2 separate regions of the Homo sapiens genome follow, and region 1 is linked to region 2. Evidence: promoter capture Hi-C in human tissues and cell types (Jung and others, 2019). All regions are on one chromosome and are shown on one strand. Each heading gives the region's core, a stretch centred on a gene start or on the middle of the fragment in contact. The rest is flanking DNA. Distances are from core to core; before and after follow the strand shown.

Region 1 (5,071 bases), core at 149-2,648, 780 kb before region 2:
GGCAAATCAAGCAAACATCGGTGCACACTTAAACAGAGGAGGAGCAGCAGCTCTTCATCACAGCAGAATTCCAATGAATAAACACAAGGAATGGCAGAAAACAGAAAGCACACCATCAGGAAACACCACAGCAATAACTGGCTGGTGTAAGTTACTACTATTTTGAGACAGGGTCTCACTCTGTTGCCCAGGCTGGATCACAATGGCACAATCACAGCTCACTGCAGCCTCGACCTTCCCGGGCTCAGGTGATCCTCCCACCTCAGCCTCCTGAGTAGCTGGGACTATAGGCCGTGTATTACCACTCCTAGCTAATTTTTTTTTTCTTTTTTTTTTTGACTGGGTCTCACTCTGTCGCCCAGGCTGAAGTGCAGTAGAGTGATCTTGGCTCACAGCAGCCTCAACCCTCCGGATTCAAGTGATCCTCCCACCTCAACCTTCCGAGTAGCTGAGACTACAGGCTCATGCCACCATACCCGGCTAATTTTTGTGTTTTCTGTAGAGACAGGGATTCACCATGTTGCCCAGGCTGGTCTCAAACTCCTGAGCTCAAGTGATCCCCCGGCCTCTGCCTCCCAAGCGCTGGGATTAGAGCCGTAAGACACCACGCCCAGCCTAAGGTTATGTATTTGAAGCAGTGGTAGATACTGCCAAGTCACACTCCACAGAGATCCTATCAGTTTACGTTCCCACAGCAATGTACTAAAGTGCATATCATCCTACATTCCTGCCAAGTCAGTGTTGAGATGAAACTCTTGGATCTTTGCCTATTGGTCAGATAAAATTTTCACTGCAGTTTTCACTTACATTTCTCTTATTATAAGCAAAACTGAGCACTGTCCCGTATTTTTAAATATTTCCTATTTCCTTTTTTGTTAAGGGACTGTTGGTATCCTCTGATAATTTTTCTACTACATTTTAAATCTTCTTCTTATTGATTTGTAAGAGCTTTTTATATATTAAGGAAATTAGTCGCCAGGAGCGGTGGCTCACACCTGTAATCCCAGCACTTTGGGAGGCCGAGGCGGGAGGATCACGAGGTCAGGAGATTGAGACCATCCTGGCTAACACGGTGAAACCCCGTCTCTACTAAAAATACAAAAAATTAGCCAGGCGTAGTGGTGGGCGCCTGTAGTCCCAGCTACTTGGGAGGCTGAGGCAGGAGAATGGCATGAACCCGGGAGACGGAGTTTGCAGCGAGCTGAGATGGCGCCACTGCACTCCACCCTGGGCAACAGAGCAAGACTCTGTCTCAAAAAAAAAAAAAAAAGGAAATTAGTCTTTTGGTTGTAAAAGCCTTCCTCACTCTAAGATTAAACATGATTTCCCCATGTTTCATTTTTCTAGTCTTTTTGGTTTTTCCCCAATTAATATGCAGAATTTTTTTTTTTTTTCCTCGAGAAGGTCTTGCTCTGTTGCCCAGAGCTGGAGTGAAATGGCGTGATCTCGGCTCACTGCAACCTCTGCCTCCCAGGTTCAAGCAATTCTCCTGCCTCAGCCTCCCAAGTAGCTGGGATTGCAGGTGTGCACCACCATGCCCGGCTAACTTTTGTGTTTTTTTGTTTTTTTGTTTTTCTTTTTTAAGTAGAGACAGGGTTTCACCATGTTGGCCAGGATGGTCTCGAACTCCTGACCTCGTGATCCGTCTGCCTCAGTCTCCCAAAGTGCTGGGATTACAGGCACAAACCACTACACCCAGCCTATATTTTTGAAAGGATTTAATATAATATTCATTATGGGAGGAGTATATAGAAGTCCTCACAATTGGGAAAAAGAAAAAAATAAGAAATCTATATTTCCAGCCAGAATTGCAAGACTTAGTATCATAACGCCAAGATTACATTAATTGAATTGACAGCATTCTTAAAAGCAGATTTGATTTCAGGTTATGTAAACTTTCCACAACAACTTTTTTTTTTTTTTTTAGAGTCTCACTCTGTTGCCCAGGCTGCAGTGCAGGGCGCCATCTCGGCTCACTGCAAGCTCCGCCTCCCGGATTCATGCCATTCTCCTGCCTCAGCCTCCCAAGACTACAGGCGCCCGCCACCATGCCCGGCTAATTTTTTGTATTTTTAGTAGAGATGGGGTTTCACCGTGTTAGCCAGGATGGTCTTGATCTCCTGACCTCGTGATCTGCCCGCCTCAGCCTCCCAAAGTGCTGGGATTACAGGCGTGAGCCACCGCGCCCGGCTTCTACAACAACTTTTAATCACTAACTCAGGTGCAGTGGCTCATGCCTGTAATCCCAGCACTTTGGGAGGCCAAGGCCGGGGGGTCGCTTCAGCTCAGGAGTTTGAAATTAGCCTGGGTAACATGGCAAAACCCCATCTCTACAAAAAAACAGCCAGGTGTGGTGGTGCATGCCTGTAGTCTCAGCTACTTGGGAGGATCACTTGAGCCTGCAAGGCAGAGGTTGCAGTGAGCCAAGATCACGCCACTGCATTTCAGGGTGGGAGATGCAGCCAGGCCCTGTCTCAAAAAAAAAATTAAAAATTAAAAAAAAAATAAACCATTAGAGGAATAAATCTGCCTGAACCAGATACCAAACACGCTAGCTGTACAATTTCCGTCTTTGTGTTTCTCCTACACCCTAAAGGAAAAACCACAAACCTCAATGTCAGGCTACAAGATCTTACTGTTAAACTATCTGGTGGTTTGGGGTCGCACAAAATGGGAAGCACTGATAGTTTGAATGTGACACCACACACCCCTCCCCTTCCACCCCCCACATCCCTACCCACTACTGCCAGTGCCCATGCAGCTCCTCCACTCTGCAGCTGCAGTCTCAGTAGCTGGGACTCCTTCCCATCCGAGTTGCTGCAGGGCCTGGCTGCAGGCCCTCTCTCCCATTCAGGCCTCCCTGGCCCCAGCAGTTCACAATAATCTCTTCCTATGAGTTCACTGCACTTAACTTTTTATGCTGCCCATTTAAAAAAATTTTATACTGGCCAGGCGCAGTGGCTCACACCATAATCCCAGCACTTTGGGAGGCCGAGGCGGGTGGATCACCTGAGGTCAGGAGTTCAAGACCAGCGTGACCAACAGGGTGAAACCCCATCTCTACTAAAAATACAAAATTAGCACTGGGTGCCTGTAATCCCCGCTACTCGGGAGGCTGAGGCAGGAGAATCACTTGAACCCACGAGGCAGAGGTTGCGGTGAGCCGAGATTGTGCCATTGCACTCCAGCAGCCTGGGTGACAAGAGTGAAACTCCGTCTCAAAAAAAAAAAAAAAAAAAAAAGATTTATTCATGTATTTACTATTTCTTTCTTTCTTAGAAAAGAGATTGCTCTGTCACCCAGGCTGGAGTGCAGTGGTACAGTCATGGCTCACTGCAGTCTTGAACTCCTGGGCTCAAGGGACCTTCCTGCTTTACTCTCCTGAACAGCTGGGACTGCAGGTAAGCACCATCACACAGGACTAAATTCTTTTTTTTTTTTTTTTCCTAGAGATAGGGTGTTTCCATGTTGACCAGGCTGGTCTTAAGCTCCTGGTCTCAAGCAATCTTCCTACCTTAGCCTCCCAAAGCTGCTGGGATTACAGGTCTGAGCCACCACGCCCAGCCTGTGCTGCTCATTTGAAACTGCTGCTATATGCCAGCATATGACATTTCCCACTGTTAATTTTTTGGTTAATGTATAATTTATCTCACCAAATTAGGGCAGGAAAAAGCTTGTATTTCTCAGTAACACTCTTTGAAGACAGGAACATCCATATTTCTTGGTATGCCAAAGTATCTATCACAAAAGCTACTCTTTACAAACTTTTTTTTTTGAGATGGAGTTTCCCTCTTGTTGCCCAGGCTGGAGTGCAATGGCGCGATCTCAGCTCACCCCATCCTCCTCCTCCCGGGTTCAAGCGATTCTCCTGCCTCAGCCTCCCGAGTAGCTGAGATTACAGGCATGTGCCACCACGCCTGGCTAATTTTGCATTTTTTGTAGAGACGGGGTTTCTCCATGTTGGTCAGGCTGCTCTCTAACTCCTGACCTCAGGTGATCCGCCCACATCGGCCTCCCAAAGTGCTAGGATTACAGGTGTGAGCCACCACGCCCAGACTTTTTTGTTTGTTTGTTTGAGATGCAGTCTCACTCTGTTGCCCAGGCTGGAGTGCACTGGCACAATCTCGGCTCACTGCAAACTCCGCCTCCCAGTTCAAGCCATTCTCGGGCCTCAGCCGCCCGAGTAGCTGGGACTACAGATGCACATCACCACGCCAGGCTAATTTTTATATTTTTAGTAGAGATGGGGTTTCTCCATGTTGCCCAGGCTGGTCTCAAACTCTGGGGCTCAAGGGATCCTCCTGCCTCAGCCTCCCAAAGTGGTGGGATTACAGAAGTGAGCCACCGCACCTGGCCAAGGGTGCATATTTCAAACACCAGAGTAACCACTAAAATAATAATTCAAAGAAGAATAGCTTTAAAAAGCATTAGATAAACCACAATGGAAATCTCAAATACATTTCATTGATAAGGAAAGGAAAAACAGGGAAAAAATCCAAAAGGACAAATAAAAGGCAAATAATAAAATGGTAGCAATAAATCCAGCCACATCGATATTTACTCTTACATTAACAGACTGAACTCTAATTATAAGGCAAGGATTGTCAGAATTGGTAAAGGAAGACCTAATTACATGCTATCTACAAGACACTTTAAACATAAAGAAAAAGATACACTTAAGACAAATGAATGGAAAAATACATACCATCCAAAAAGTGTGTTTAAGAAAGCTGGAGTGGCTCTATTAATATCAAGTAAAATACATTTCAAAATAAAAAATATTATTAGGAAAAAAGAAGGATATTTCAGAATACTACAACAAACAATTCATCAGGAAAATGTAATCACAAGTGTGTATTTGCCTAATAACAGAGCTTCAACATATATGAAGTTAAAACGGAAAGAATTAAAGACAAAACAATTCCACAATCACAGCTGGAGATCTTAACACTCCTCTCTCAATAACTGACAGAATCAAACCAAAAAATAAAACAGAAGCCGGGCACAGTAGCTCACGCCTGTAATCCCAGCACTTTGGGAGGCTGAAACAGGAGAATCGCTTGAACCCGAG
Region 2 (4,945 bases), core at 210-2,709:
ACTTTTAAAATTTTATTATTTTTATTTTTTTGAGACAGTGTCTTGGTCCGTCGCCCAGGCTGGTGTGCAGTGGCGCGATCTCGGCTTACTGCAACCTCCGCCCCCCGGGTTCAAGAGATTCTCCTGCCTCAGCCTCCCGAGTAGCTGGGATTACAAGCATGTGCCACCAAGCCCGGCTAATTTTTGTATTTTTTAGTAGAGACGGGGTTTCACCAGGTTGACCAGGCAGGTCTCGAACTCCTGACTTAAAGTGATCCACCCACCTCAGCCTCCCAAAGTGCTGGGAGTACAGGTGGGAGCCACCGTGCCCAGCCCTAACTCACTTCTGAAGTTGCTGCTACTTGCACTGATTTCAGTTTTTTTTTGTTTTTGTTTTTTGTTTTCAAGGTGGAGTCTTGCTCTGTGGCCCAGGCTGGAGTGCAGTGGTGGTGCGATCTTGGCTCACTGCAACTTCCGCCTCTTGGGTTCAAGTGATTCTCCTGCCTCAGTTTCCTGAGTAGCTGGGATTACAGGCAGGAGCCACCATGCCCGGCTAAAATTTTTTTGTATTTTTGGTAGAGACGGGGTTTCAACATGCTGGCCAGGCTGGTCTCGAACTGCTGACCTCAAGTGATCTTCCCGCCTCAGGCTCCCAAAGTGCTGGGATTACAGACATGAGCCACCACACCCGGCCCACGATTTCAGTAATTTCTTTGTGTTCAGTAAAACTAAAAAATGACTCTGGGCTGGGTGCGGTGGCCTGTAATTGCAGTGATTTGGGAGGCCGAGGCGGGTGGATCACCTGAGCTCAGGAGTTCGAGACCAGCCTGGCCAACATGGTGAAACCCCCGTCTCTACTAAAAATACAAAAATTAGCCGGGCGTGGTGGCAGGCGCTTGTAATCCCAGCTATTCGGGAGGTTAAGGCAGGAGAATCGCTTGAACCCGGGAGAAGGGGGTTGCAGTGAGCCGAGATCACGTCATTGCACTCCAGCCTGGGCGACGAGCAAAACTCGGTCTCAAAAAAAGAAAAATCATTCTGTCATTCTGGCCGCTGTTTGAAGAATGCGAATAATGCAACAGGGAGATCAGATACAAGACTGGTAACCGAGGTGTCAGAGTTGAGACTCAGTTTCGCAGATTGCATTGGCAAGTGACCAAGTGGGTGGTGCCACGGTTGACAACCCTATTTCTTACATCACTGAGTGGATGTACAAGGATTAAACCACACTGGGGAAGAAAAGTGCTCAACCCTGAGGCACCCTCACACACCTCGGCTCTTGTGAACACTAGTGTTCCTGCCGAAGCACGCCTACTTACCCCGCTGAGCAGAGCCTGAGCCTGCAACCTCCAGAGACCTGGGGAAAGCCACATACTCCGCTTCCCGCCCCCGGCAAGGGCGTGTCAGCTACAAGGGGCGTGTCATCTCTAGGCCCCGCCCCGCGCTGCGTGCCCACGTTGCGCCGGCCTCGCGCCAGTCCGCTGGGCTGCAGGGACTGCGGCGCCTGAGGGAGTCGCTGACGGGCACGCTGACTGGAGGCTGGCGGACAGGCGACAGCGACCTGCGGCAGGTGAGCTGTCCGCGCCCTCCCGGGGCCTTCCTTCCGCCCGGCTTCTCGGACCGCGCTGCGTCCTTCGCGGGCCCTGCCTCGGTCCAGGCCTTCGGACCTGGGCTTGGCCGGGCCACAGCCCTTTGGGTCCCCTGCGCCGGTCTGAGGGGAGACCCGGCCGGGGGCGGCCGGAAGCTGGGTGAGGCCGGGCAGAAGGACGAAGAAGGGCGTGGAGGGGCTGTCAGGGGAGGGCGAAACCGCGGACGCCGCTCTCCAGAAGTCGTCTCCCCGGGGGCGCGGGGAGGCCTGAATGGCTCTCTTTGGCGTCCCCGTTGGGCCCACCCTCTCCCAGCGTCACGGCTATGCTGGGCGAGGTGACCCCCGGGGTCGTAGCTGGGGGCGTCGGCGGTGCAGACAGGGGATGCCGGCAGAGATTGGAGCCCGGCTTGGCTGTTTCCCGGGCTGTTGGCATTGACCGGGGCTCTGCCCTTCCTCTAATGCCCTTATCTCTATAGGAAGTGCCCCTTGAGTGGGTGTCGTGACTTCACGAGTGAACCCTGGTACGCCCTGGAGCAGAGTCGGACTGGGAGGGATCAAGTGTGGGGGCAGCCGGTTAGTCCGGACGCGGGTTTACCTATTACTTTCTGAGCGCAGTGCTCTGGGTGGATTAATTGCCCTGCAAAAGCTGCCGGGACCTCCTTGCAGTCTTTGCACGAGGCCTGCCTGTGTCATGCCATTTAAATCGCGTCTGGGCCGGGTCGGTGGCTCACGCCTGTAATTCCAGCACTTTGGGAGGCCAGGGCGGGCGGATTGCTTGAGGTCAGGAGTCCGAGACCAGCCTGGCCAACATAGTGAAACCCCGTCTCTACTAAAAATACAAAAATCAGCCGGGCATGGTAACGTGAGCCTGTAGCTCCAGCTACTTAGGAGGCTGAGGCAGGAGAATCGCTTGAACCCGGGAGGCAGAGGTTGCAGTGAGCCGAGATCACGCCATTGCACTCCAGCCTGGGCGACAGAGCAAGACTCCATCTAAAAAAAAAAAAAAAAAAAAAAAAAATCGCTTCTGATGAGCCGGTTGTCGTGGCCTGTGGCTGTCCATCCTTACGTACTGTGTTTTGTTGATGGCGCTACAAACCAGACAAGGTGGAGTGTGATTGAAGAAAGAAACGCTGGCCGGTGCAGTGGCTCACTCCTGTAATCCCAGCACTTTGGGAGGCCGAGGCAGGCGGATCACCTGAGGTCAGGAGTTCGAGATCAGCCTGGCCAACATGGTGAAACCCCGTCTCTACTAAAAATACAAAAAAGTTAAACGGGCGGGGTGGCGCGTGTCTGTAATCCCAGCTACTGGGGAGTTTGAGGTTGGAGGATCACTTGAGCCCACGAAGTGGAGATTGCAGTGAGCTGAGATCGCATCACTGCACTCCAGCCTGGGTGACAGAGTGAGACCCTGTCTCAAAAAAGAAAAAAATAAATTATCACAAGACAAAATTTGTGCTTATCAGGAGTTCACAGTTAAGACATATATAAGCTTACTTGGTGAAATTAGAAAAAGTTATCAGATAAAACATTCAGGTTTAAACACTGGTGAGGGTGTGGGAATTTGTGGAGCCTTGGAAACACACTCATTGAATGACCTCATCTACCTGGGGATGTGAAGAGGGAAATCCTGTGATTCCTCCATTGTCTGACTTGATTTCCTTTTTTCCTTGGCTGTGGCAACATGTTGAAGTGCTGTGAGTCACCAAAAGGGGGAACGTGAGCAACTCTAGAAATGCCAGTGCCAGTGAGTTACAGACAATAAAGCATTGACCGCCTTTAGCTCACCCCTCATCAAGTCTGTTGAAAACTTGTAAAATTGGACAGCTAGAGCTACCTTGATTTTTTGGTTTCCTTTTAACAGCTGACTCTCTTCACAGGACAGTTGGGCTCTACATCAGGATTGCACCCAAAACTGGAATATCACTCCTCCAGGAGGAAGATATATTTGAAAATTAGAATTGTGGGCCCGGTGCAGTGGCTCATGCTTGTGATCCCAGCACTTTGGGAGGCCGAGATGGGCGGATCACCTGAGGTCGGGAGATAGAGACCAGCCTGACCAACATGGAAAAACCCCATCTCTACTAAGAAAAAAATAATAATAATACAAAAATTAGCTGGGCATGGTGGTGTGTGCCTGTAATCCGAGCTACTTGGGAGGCCGAGGCAGGAGAATCACTTGAACCTGGGAGGCAGAGGTTGCGATGAGCCAAGATTGTGCCACTGCATTCCAGCCTGGGCAACAGGAGCAAAACTGCATCTCAAAAAAAAAAAAAAGAAAGAAAGAAAATTAGAATTGTGTATTTCACTGTAAAATTTGAAATTCAGCTTTAACTCCTTGGAAAGGAAAGAGATGAAAAACTTGACCTAGACTGGGTGCGGTGGCTCACGCCTGTAATCCCAGCACTTTGGGAGACCAAGGCGGGTGGATCACCTGAGGTCAGGAGTTCGAGACCAGCCTGGCTAACATTGTGAAACCCCGTCTCTACTAAAAATACAAAAATTAGCCTTGCAAAAAGTAGCCTGTAATCCCAGCTACTCGGGAGGCTGAGCAAGGAGAATTGCTTGAACCTGGGAGGCAGAGGTTTCAGTGAGCCAAGATCATGCCATTGCACTCCAGCCTGGGCGACAAGAGCAAAACTTCATCTCAAAGAAAAAAAAATTCTATCAGAGTGAACAATAAGTAGGATGCTAGCACATACCTGTAATCTCAGCTACTTGGGAGGCTGAGGCAGGAAGTTAATACTTGATGAGCCTAAGTTTTTGGTGTCTTTGGATGCTGCTTGTCGATCTAAGGGGTTTCCAAACGCTTCTTTTTTGGTAAAATTGGGATTATGACTAGGAATCTGTTTTTTGGAGTTTCCCAGGTGATCCTTGTTTGGGGTCCTTGTCTAAGGCACAGGCTGGAAAGAGGAGGGAGTGGACTGGCAGGGAAGATAGAGCAGTAAGCGAATAGAATACCTGGGGAAAGGGACGCCAGAAGAGTGATTGTTGTCTGGTGAACTGTGCTGTCAGTGTGTATGTCAGAAGCCAACAAAGTGGATATTCTCTTCACTCAGCTTAGGGAAAAAATTAATTTTTGTTTCACAGATAGATTCGTTTCCTTCCCAGGAGTATTATAGGCCTAATTACTGTCATAGTTCTCAGTAACTTTAAAAAGGCTGTGGGGAAGAATGGCATAACAGACTAGTATCTTGTACCCAGCCTGCCTTTTTCTTATTCTATTTTTTTTTTTTTTTTTTTTTTTTTTTTTTTTGAGACAGTCTTGCTCTGTCACCCAGGCTGGAGTGTGGTGGCACAATCTCAGCTCACTGCAACCTCCGCCTCCTGGGTTCAAGCGATTCTCCAGCCTCAGTCTCCTGAGTAGCTGGGATTACAGGC

What was found. Contacts are between HindIII fragments. The study calls those that stand out against the background at their distance.
Region 1: a fragment that was not itself captured here is called in contact with the fragment with the promoter of HMOX2 in region 2 in 1 of the 25 tissues and cell types used here (dorsolateral prefrontal cortex).

What each region holds. Positions count from the first base shown.
Region 1 is chr16:3,696,410-3,701,480 of GRCh38, forward strand. All of the region lies in intron 1 of TRAP1 (TNF receptor associated protein 1), which reads right to left. Among named protein-coding and RNA genes, the nearest start is that of TRAP1, 19 kb to the right of the region's middle. RefSeq lists an enhancer at 1-311. The HindIII fragment of the contact is 6,313 bases long and covers 1-4,555 here.
Region 2 is chr16:4,474,939-4,479,883 of GRCh38, forward strand. It overlaps HMOX2 (heme oxygenase 2), which reads left to right and starts at 1,460. Exons shown (of 6, transcript NM_002134.4): 1 at 1,460-1,549. LOC124903636 (a long non-coding RNA gene) reads right to left here. Exons shown (of 3, transcript XR_007064964.1): 3 at 4,326-4,623. It also overlaps a transcript of NMRAL1 not described here. RefSeq lists an enhancer at 1,256-1,757. The HindIII fragment of the contact is 17,527 bases long and covers 1-4,945 here.